Regions from separate parts of the Homo sapiens genome. Here region 1 is linked to region 2. The links are contacts of gene promoters, found by promoter capture Hi-C in human tissues and cell types (Jung and others, 2019). All regions are on one chromosome and are shown on one strand. The core of a region is centred on a gene start or on the middle of the fragment in contact, and the rest is flanking DNA. Distances in the headings are between cores, read along the strand shown. Region 1 holds the start of LINC02434 (long intergenic non-protein coding RNA 2434). Region 2 holds the start of ZFP42 (ZFP42 zinc finger protein).

Region 1 (3,929 bases), core at 539-3,038, 160 kb after region 2:
GAGGTCGAGAGATTGAGACCATCCTGGCTAACACAGTGAAACCCCGTCTCTACTAAAAATACAAAAATTAGCCAGGCGTGGTGGCGCATGCCTGTAATTCCAACTACTTGGGAGGCTGAGGCAGGAGAATCACTTGAACCCGGGAGACAGAGGTTGCAGTGAGCCGAGATGGCGCCACTGCACTCCAGCCTGGTGGCAGAGAGAGACTCTGTCTCAAAAAAAAAAAAAAGAAAAAATAATTTAAAAATTACAAATGATAAAATTAGGCCCAGTGTCTTAGAGAGTATCAAATAAATAAGGGCCTGAAACTTAAGTTTCTCTAGCTCCATTGTACATCTGCCTCTGGGTTAGCCAGATACGAAGATGAAGCACAAAGGCAGTAAAGCCAGGTCTGCTGGGTTCAAATCTCAGCTCCACCACTCACCACTTACTAACTGTACCAGCTTGTCTCCCCATGCCTCAGTCCCCTCATCAGGAAAATGTGTTTGAAAATAATATCCGGGCCAGTACATGGTAACCTCAGCAAGTTGGGAGGCCCAGGCAGGAGGATCGCTTGAGCCCCGCTCAAGACCAGCCTGGGCAATATAGTGAGACCCCAAGTAATACTATTACCAAAAATAAAAAGAATGAGCCAGGTATGGTGGCACACACCTGTGGTCCCAGTTACTAAGGAGGCTGAGGTGGGAGCATCACTTAAGCCTGGGAGGTCGAGGCTGCAGTGAGCCGTGATTGTGCCATTGCATTCCAGCCTGAGCGACAGAGCGATACCCTCTCTCAAAAAAAAAAAAAAAAAAAAAGGAAATAATACTGCTTCACAGGGCTGTCTAGGGCTGTCGTATGCATGAAATGACATAACACTTGTACTTGGAGCATCACTTAATTTCAGGTGTAAGCACTCAACAGTGCTAACTATGAATCGCTCCTCACCAAGCTTGGACGTCTACACTAGCATGACGCTGTTTGAGGTTTTAGACACTGCCCTGATTCCTCACAGTTCTGACCAAGAACCTGAAACTGAGGTCGGAATATTGCCTTCTATTCCTCCCATTTCTGCCTGGGGGTCCTGGTTCTGTCCTTACTGTCCTTACGGAAACTCTACCTCACCAGTTTTGCAATGGCCTCTGTGGGGTCCCCCAGTAACCCTTCTCCCCTACTTCACTTTCTTTCTGTGCCCTGACCAAGAATCACAGAGTGTCCTGACAGCTCTTCACCCAGCCAGGTGCAAGCTTCTCCCAGCACGCCCAAACCCAAACCGGGCCCAAACCGGAGTCTCGAACATTCCCAGACACTCATTAAGGTCTCGAGGTTGTCGCCCGAAACACGGAAAGAAACTGGCCCTGGCCCCTAACCAAATTTCTTAAAACTCTCACATTCCATAATCCCTGAACCCCTCACTGCAGACACACGCAGGTAGAACACCTTTTTTTTGAGATGGAGTTTCACTCTGTCACCCAGGCTGAAGTGCAGTGGAGTGGTCTCAGCTCACTGCAGCCTCTGCCTCCCGGGTTCAAGCAATTCTCGTGTCTCAGCCTCTTGAGTAGCTGAGATTACAGGCGCATACCACCACGCCCTGCTAATTTTTGTATTTTTAGTAGAGACGGGGTTTCACCACGTTGGCCAGGCTGGTCTTGAACTCCTGACCTCAGGTGATCCGCCCGCCTCAGCCTCCCAAAGAGCTGGGATTACAGGTTTGAGCCACTGTGCCCAGTCTCTCTTTTTTTTTTTTCTGGTTATTATATAAATACTTTTTAAAAATGTAATTTAATTTTCAGTTCTGGAATGTATGTGCAGGACACGCAGGTTTGTTACATAGGTAAACATGTGCCACGGTGGTTTGCTGAACCTATCACCCCGTCATTTAGGTATTTAAGCCCCGCATGTATTCACTATTTATCTTGATGTTCTCCCTCCCCCTGCCCCACCGACAGGCCCCAGTGTGTGTTGTTCCCCTCCCTGTGTCCATACAGAGCACCCCTTTCTCTCCAAGGATCGCTGTGGCCTCTGTAAGCTCCCCTCATAACTGCTCTGAACTGAGCACCCTGCTGATGAGGGCTTCTTTCTTTGGAATCCCAATCGACCCCATCCTGGAACAGTTCAGAGTACTCCCTTGTGGGAATTCCCCCGCCGCTGCTTTTGGGGTGATTCCAGCGTTGGGTTGGCTGGACAAAACAGCCTCGAAGCATACTGCCCCAAATCTGGTCCTTCTGAGTTTCTGATTCCCTCACTCTTCATCTCTTATGACGCCTTCCTAAACATTCCTGAGAGTTTCAAACATTGTCTTTCATTTGACTCAGGGATTCATCATCCGCTTCCTGTTGAAATAGTAAACGCCTCCACATGGACTCACGGGTTCACCTCCTTCCGGTCTGAACAGTGAACTCCTCCGCATCAACTCACCCATTCACCCCTTCCGGTCTAAACAGTGAACGCCTCCGCATGGACTCACGAGTTCACCTCCTTCCGGTCTAAACAGTGAACGCCTCCGCATCGACTCACGGGTTCACCTCCTTCCGGTCTGAACAGTGAACTCCTCCGCATGGACTCACGGGTTCACCTCCTTCCGGTCTGAACAGTGAACGCCTCCGCATCGACTCACGGGTTCACCTCCTTCCGGTCTGAACAGTGAACTCCTCCGCATGGACTCACGGGTTCACCTCCTTCCGGTCTGAACAGTGAACTCCTCCGCATCGACTCACGGGTTCACCTCCTTCCGGTCTGAACAGTGAACTCCTCCGCATGGACTCACGGGTTCACCTCCTTCCGGTCTGAACAGTGAACTCCGCATCGACTCACGCGTTCACCTCCTTCCGGTCTAAATGGTAAACTCCTCTGCATTGTAAGTCAGTGTCTAGAGTGGTGATTTGCTTTCTGGGGTGTGTTTTTCACAGTGATGGTGGATCCACAAATTTCAAACAAATTCTTTCTCCACCAGTTCTGTTCGGTTCTATTTTGGTGGGGCCCACGCGTCATCACAGAGTATCTGGGAGCCCTGCCCTCTTGCAGATGGGAATGAAGGCCCAGGTGCTCTGGAGAGGTGACTCTCCTCTAGGTGAGGGGTGTGTGTGTGAGAGGAGTGAGGTGCGGTGTGGGAGGGTCCTTGCAGGGTCCGGCTGCTTTCGGAGGCTGTTTTTCTCAGCTCCCCGTTTTGTCCCTCCAAATTGTGCCCCTCTCCTTCCAATTGTCACTCTCCTTTCCCCCAACCCTCCCTGTCTCCCAGTTGTCTCGCTTCTCAGAAAGGAAACACTGGTTCTGTAAACCTGTTTGAGAAGAAAAGCTCGAGGTTTCTTGGCCTCTCTGCTTCTGGAGCCAGGGGAAAAAATAGCCCCAGGCTGAAGACAGGAGGGACCAGATTGCTGCTTGGTGATGCGATCTCACTGCAGAGGCAGCCAGGAGACCCTCCTGAGACGAATCGGAGAGTCCATGCTGCTTTTACACACATCCTAGTTCTTTTATAACTAGCCTTTTCCTATTAACGGACATCATTCAAAAGCCAGTTTTAAGCAACATAAATATTGAAAACAATACTATACTATTTAGAATTAATTATAAGTTTTGTTTTTAAAGCCTAAATCTTTTATTGTTGTTTGAACCCTGGGCACTGAAGCTAATAATGTAACTTTTCTCCCTTCTTTCTTCTTTGGCATAGATTTAAAGAACTGTTAGACTCATTTAAAATGCTATTAGGCATTTTAAAGAGTAATTGTTAAATGTGTTGTCTCTTGTGGGACTGGAAATGTTCTGTTCTTATCTGGCGCTGGTTACATCCTGTTTTTCATTTGGGAAAGTGCATTGAGCTGGAAATTTATATGTTCAATTTCTGTATGTAAATTGTACTTCAGTAAAAATTTTCAAAAAAGTGGCTGCCTTTTATAGCAGGTGTCCCATGCGCATATATATATATATATATATATATTTTTTTTTTTTTAAGA
Region 2 (4,343 bases), core at 277-2,776:
TGGCCAGGCGCAGTGGCTCACGCCTGTAATCCCAACACTTTGGGAGGCCGAGACAGGCGGATCACCTGAGGTCGGACCAGCCTGCCAACATGGAGAAACCCTGTCTCTACTAAAAATACTAAATTAGCCGTGCGTGGTGGTGCATGCCTGTAATCCCAGCTACTGGGGAGGCTGAGGCAGGAGAATCACTTGAACCAAATAGGCGGAGGTTGCAGTGAGGTGAGACGGTGCCACTGCACTCCAGCCTGGGGGACAGAGAAAGACTCCGTCTCAAAAAAGAAAAAAAAAGAGAAAGAAAAGAAAGGAAGGAAGGAAGGAAGGAAGGAAGGAAGGAAGGAAGGAAGGAAGGAAGGAAGGAAAATTATATTTTATTGGCCAACCTCAAAATTGAAGCTTATTCAGAAACAGATTTAAAAAAAGAAAAAAGTGGAGAACTGCTCCCAGATATATATGCAGAAAAGCTTCAAGTCAACATTTAGGAGGTTTTTAAATATCGATCTGGGTTTCGTTCTAATGGTCTGGGTGTACTTATACGACCTATTACATTTCACTAGACTGTAGCCAATAGTGAGCGTTGACTGACCATTGCTTTCAAAGTGAGTTGTGTTGCCTTTAGCAATACAGTCACATTAATGGCCAGAAAAAGAAAAAAGAAAACAAACACTGGGGGTGTTTGAAACAACTGGGGGTAGGGTGGGGTGGGAAAGGTGTGGGGGTTTGCGTTCGAGTCAACCTCTATTTCGGGGGGTAAAAACTGCCTCCTCCGCTTGATTTTTTTCCTCGATCTGCAAAAGCGTAAATGTTTTGTTTTGTTCTATTGAGATGGAGCCTCGCTCTATCACCCAGGCTGGAGCTTAGTGGCGCGATCTCGGCTCACTGCAACCTCCGCATCCCGGGTTCAAGCGATTCTCCTGCCTCAGCCTCCTGAGTAGCTGGGATTACAGGCGAGCACCACCATGCCTGGCTAATTTTTGTATTTTTCGGTAGAGACGGGGTTTCGCCATGTTGGCCAGGCTGGTCTCGAACGCTTGACCTCATGTGATCCCCCCGTCTCGGCCTCCCAAAGTGCTGGGACGACAGGCGTGAGCCACCGCGTCCGGCCTAAAAGGGTAAATGTGATTACACCCACGCGTATTTGTTCAACAGACATTTATTGAGCGCTCACCACGTGCCAACGCCGGGCGTCTGGGCTCTGGAGGCGCTGCCACGTGGCGGATGCGCAGTGCCCGGCGGCCGGGCTGAGGGGTGAACGCGGGGGTCAGGGGGCCCCGGGCTGAGGGTTTGCGTGCGGGCCGGGTGCCTGGGGGCCCCGGGCTGAGGGTGAGCGCGCCGCCCAGGTGCCAGGCGGCTCCGGGCAGAGAGTGAACGCGCGGGCCAGGTGGCTCCAGGGCGGCGCCCCAGGGCGGGGCCGGCCACGCCCTCCCTAACCCTGGCGGAGCTGATGGGTGGCTGTAGCCTGATTAGACCGCGTCAGTCCGGAGGGTGGGTCTTGGGAGGGGGCGCAGGGCAGTCCACGTTTCCACTGCAGTTTCTCCTTTGTTTTACGTTTGGGAGGAGGTGGCATTGGAAATAGCAGAGTGCTTCGCGGTAACAGGGGTGAGTCTTGTTTCATGGAACTTTTTTCAAATGGGGAGAAGGGGGTTGTGTTGCTCACTACTTGGAATGTGTCGGTCAAAGGGGTTAGATAGTCAGGGAGGGGAAGCGTGTTCTCATCCTGGGACCAGGCCGGAGCCGGCCTCGCCGGGAGACTTGTAGCCCTCGCCCTGCGGTGACCCGTGGCTGGCCACTGGCCTCAAATGTTGAAAACGGGCAGATGGGCAAGTAATACACTCTCAAGAAAGCAAGTGTCTGGCGGTGATTTCCTAAATTGCATTTTTTATTTTATTTCAAAACTTCATGTAAATATGTTTCCTTACAATATCTGGCTAAGTCTTTTCTATATTAACATGCTTACATTGTGATCAAGACACCAGTCTCTTCCCTTTCTTTTCCTCTCCTCTTATCTCTGGAGATGGCAATACCCCCAACTCAAATTACTCTAGCAAAAAACCTAGGAGACTCTTTCTTTTCTTTTTTCTTTTTTTTTGGAGACAGTCTCGCTCTGTTGCCAGGCTGGAGTGCAATGGCGCGATCTCGGCTCACTGCAACCTCCGTCTCCCGGGTTCAAGGGATTCTCCTGCCTCAGCCTCCCAAGTAGCTGAGATTACAGGCGCCCTTCACTGCGCCCGGCTAATTTTTGTATTTTAGTAGAGACGGGGTTTCACCATGTTGGTCAGGCTGGTCTCGAACTCGTGACCTCAGATGATCCGCCCGCCTCAGCCTCCCAAAGTGCTGAGATTACAGGCGTGAGCCACCGCGCCGGGCGAGACTCATTCTTGATTCCTGTTTCCCTTCCGCTCTTCATCCAATCCACCGGCGAGCTGCAGGGCGAGGGGGTGGTTCTTTCTCCTGTTTTCCCGCTCTCCCTGCATTTCATCTCCTCTGCCGCCATCTGCTCCAAACCCCTGGCAGCCCTTCGCGGGATTCCCAAATCTAATAGATTTTTCTGTTCTCCCCAAATCCATTCTCCATGCAGCTGTCCGGCCCATCTTCTAACCTAAAAAAACTTGCTGTTTGCTTGTTGGAAGCCCTGTAATGGTTTCCTTGGGACCTGGGATGAAATGCAAATGGTCCCGGGGCTCACCGTCAGCCCCGCGCCTGGGCCTCGCCCCAGCCCCCACCTTCCTGCCCGCCATAGCTGTAGGGAGCATGGAGCATGGAGCGTGGAGCGTGGAGCATGGAGCATGGAGCGTGGAGCATGGAGCATGGCCTGCAGCCCCCGGGGAGCGCCGGCAGCCTGGAACCAGCAGGCTTCGCTCGTCTCTTCCCACCCCCGTGCACTTTTCCTCCTGCCCACATCTGGCTCCGATGGCCCCCTCCTTGGGGGCCTTTTCCAGACATTCATGATGAAGGTGGCGTCCTCGGTTACTTCCCCTCTCATATTCTTTTTTTTTTTTTTTTTTTTTTGAGACAGAGTTTTGCTCTTGTCGCTTGGGCTGGAGTGCAGTGGCACGATCTCGGCTCACTGCAACCTCCGCCTCCTAGGTTCAAGCGATTCTCCTGCCTCGGCCTCCCGAGTAGCTGGGACTACAGGCGCCCGCCACCACGCCCGACTAATTTTTTTTATTTTTAATAGGGTTTCACCATGTTGGCCAGGATGGTCTCGATCTCCTGACCTCGTGATCCGCCCGCCTCGGCCTCCCAAAGTGGTGGGATTACAAGCGTGAGCCACCGCTCCCGGTCCCACCCCGCCCCGACCTTTTTTTTAATAGCATTTTTCTCAATCTGACATTTTTTGTTTATTTGCCCTTTACTGTCTGTCCCACACCAAACTTTGTGTTAACGAGGAACTTTGCATCTTTTTCCCTAAGTTCAGCACCTAGAACGAATACTAAATGTATATGAAGATTTCGTCCACATCCGCTTTTACCAGTATGTTTTCCATGTACAGTCAAGTTCCATATAAGGCCGTTTCAGTCAGTGAGCAACCCCACGTACTATGGTGGTCCCATAAGATTATAAAAGAGCTGAAAAATCCCCATGGCCTAGTGACATCTTCATGATCCTGAATTTGTGTAGGCCTAGGCTCATGTGTGTGTTTGTCTCTTCGTTTTTAACGTAAAAGTTTTTAAACAGACAAAATTTTACAGAATAAGAATATAAAGAAAAAATATTTTTGTACAGGTGAAAAAATGTTTGTGTTTTAAGCTAAGTGTTATTACAAAAGAGTCAGGAAGTTTGCACATTTTTAAGTTTATAAAGTTAAAAAGAGTCTGGGCGCGGTGGCTCACGCCTGTAATCCCAGCATTTTGAGAGCCTGAGGCAGGCGGATCGCCTGAGGTCGGGAGTTGGAGACCAGCCTGACCAACGTGGAGAAACCTCATTTCTACTAAAAATACGAAATTAGCTGGGCGTGGTGACACATGCCTGTAATCCCAGCTACTCAGGAGGCTGACGCGGGAGAATCGGCTGAACCTGGGAGGCGGAGGTTGCTGTGAGCGGAGATCACGCTGTTGCACTCCAGCCTGGGCAACAAGAGGGAAACTCTGTCTCAAAAAAAAAAGTAAATAAATAAATGAATTTAAAAAGTTACAGTAAGCTAAGGTTAATTTATTATTCAGGAAAGACAAATTTTTAAATAAGTTCTAAAATTTGCCTAAGTGTACAGTGCTTATAAAGCCTACAGTTGTGTACAGTGGCGTCCCAGGCCTTCATTCACTCAACACTCACTCACTCACTCATCCAGAGCCACTACCAGTACTGTGAGCTCCATTATGGGAATGTGCCTACACAGGTGTACCATT

Evidence for each region. Contacts are between HindIII fragments. The study calls those that stand out against the background at their distance.
Region 1: a fragment that was not itself captured here is called in contact with the fragment with the promoter of ZFP42 in region 2 in 1 of the 25 tissues and cell types used here (stomach).

What each region holds. Positions count from the first base shown.
Region 1 is chr4:188,157,284-188,161,212 of GRCh38, forward strand. LINC02434 (long intergenic non-protein coding RNA 2434) reads left to right here and starts at 2,770. Exons shown (of 2, transcript NR_187427.1): 1 at 2,770-2,819; 2 at 3,218-3,856. RefSeq lists an enhancer at 1,967-3,166. The HindIII fragment of the contact is 3,258 bases long and covers 160-3,417 here.
Region 2 is chr4:187,994,245-187,998,587 of GRCh38, forward strand. ZFP42 (ZFP42 zinc finger protein) reads left to right here and starts at 1,527. Exons shown (of 4, transcript NM_174900.5): 1 at 1,527-1,596. RefSeq lists enhancers at 715-1,694, 1,695-2,676, 2,291-2,585. The HindIII fragment of the contact is 6,716 bases long and covers 148-4,343 here.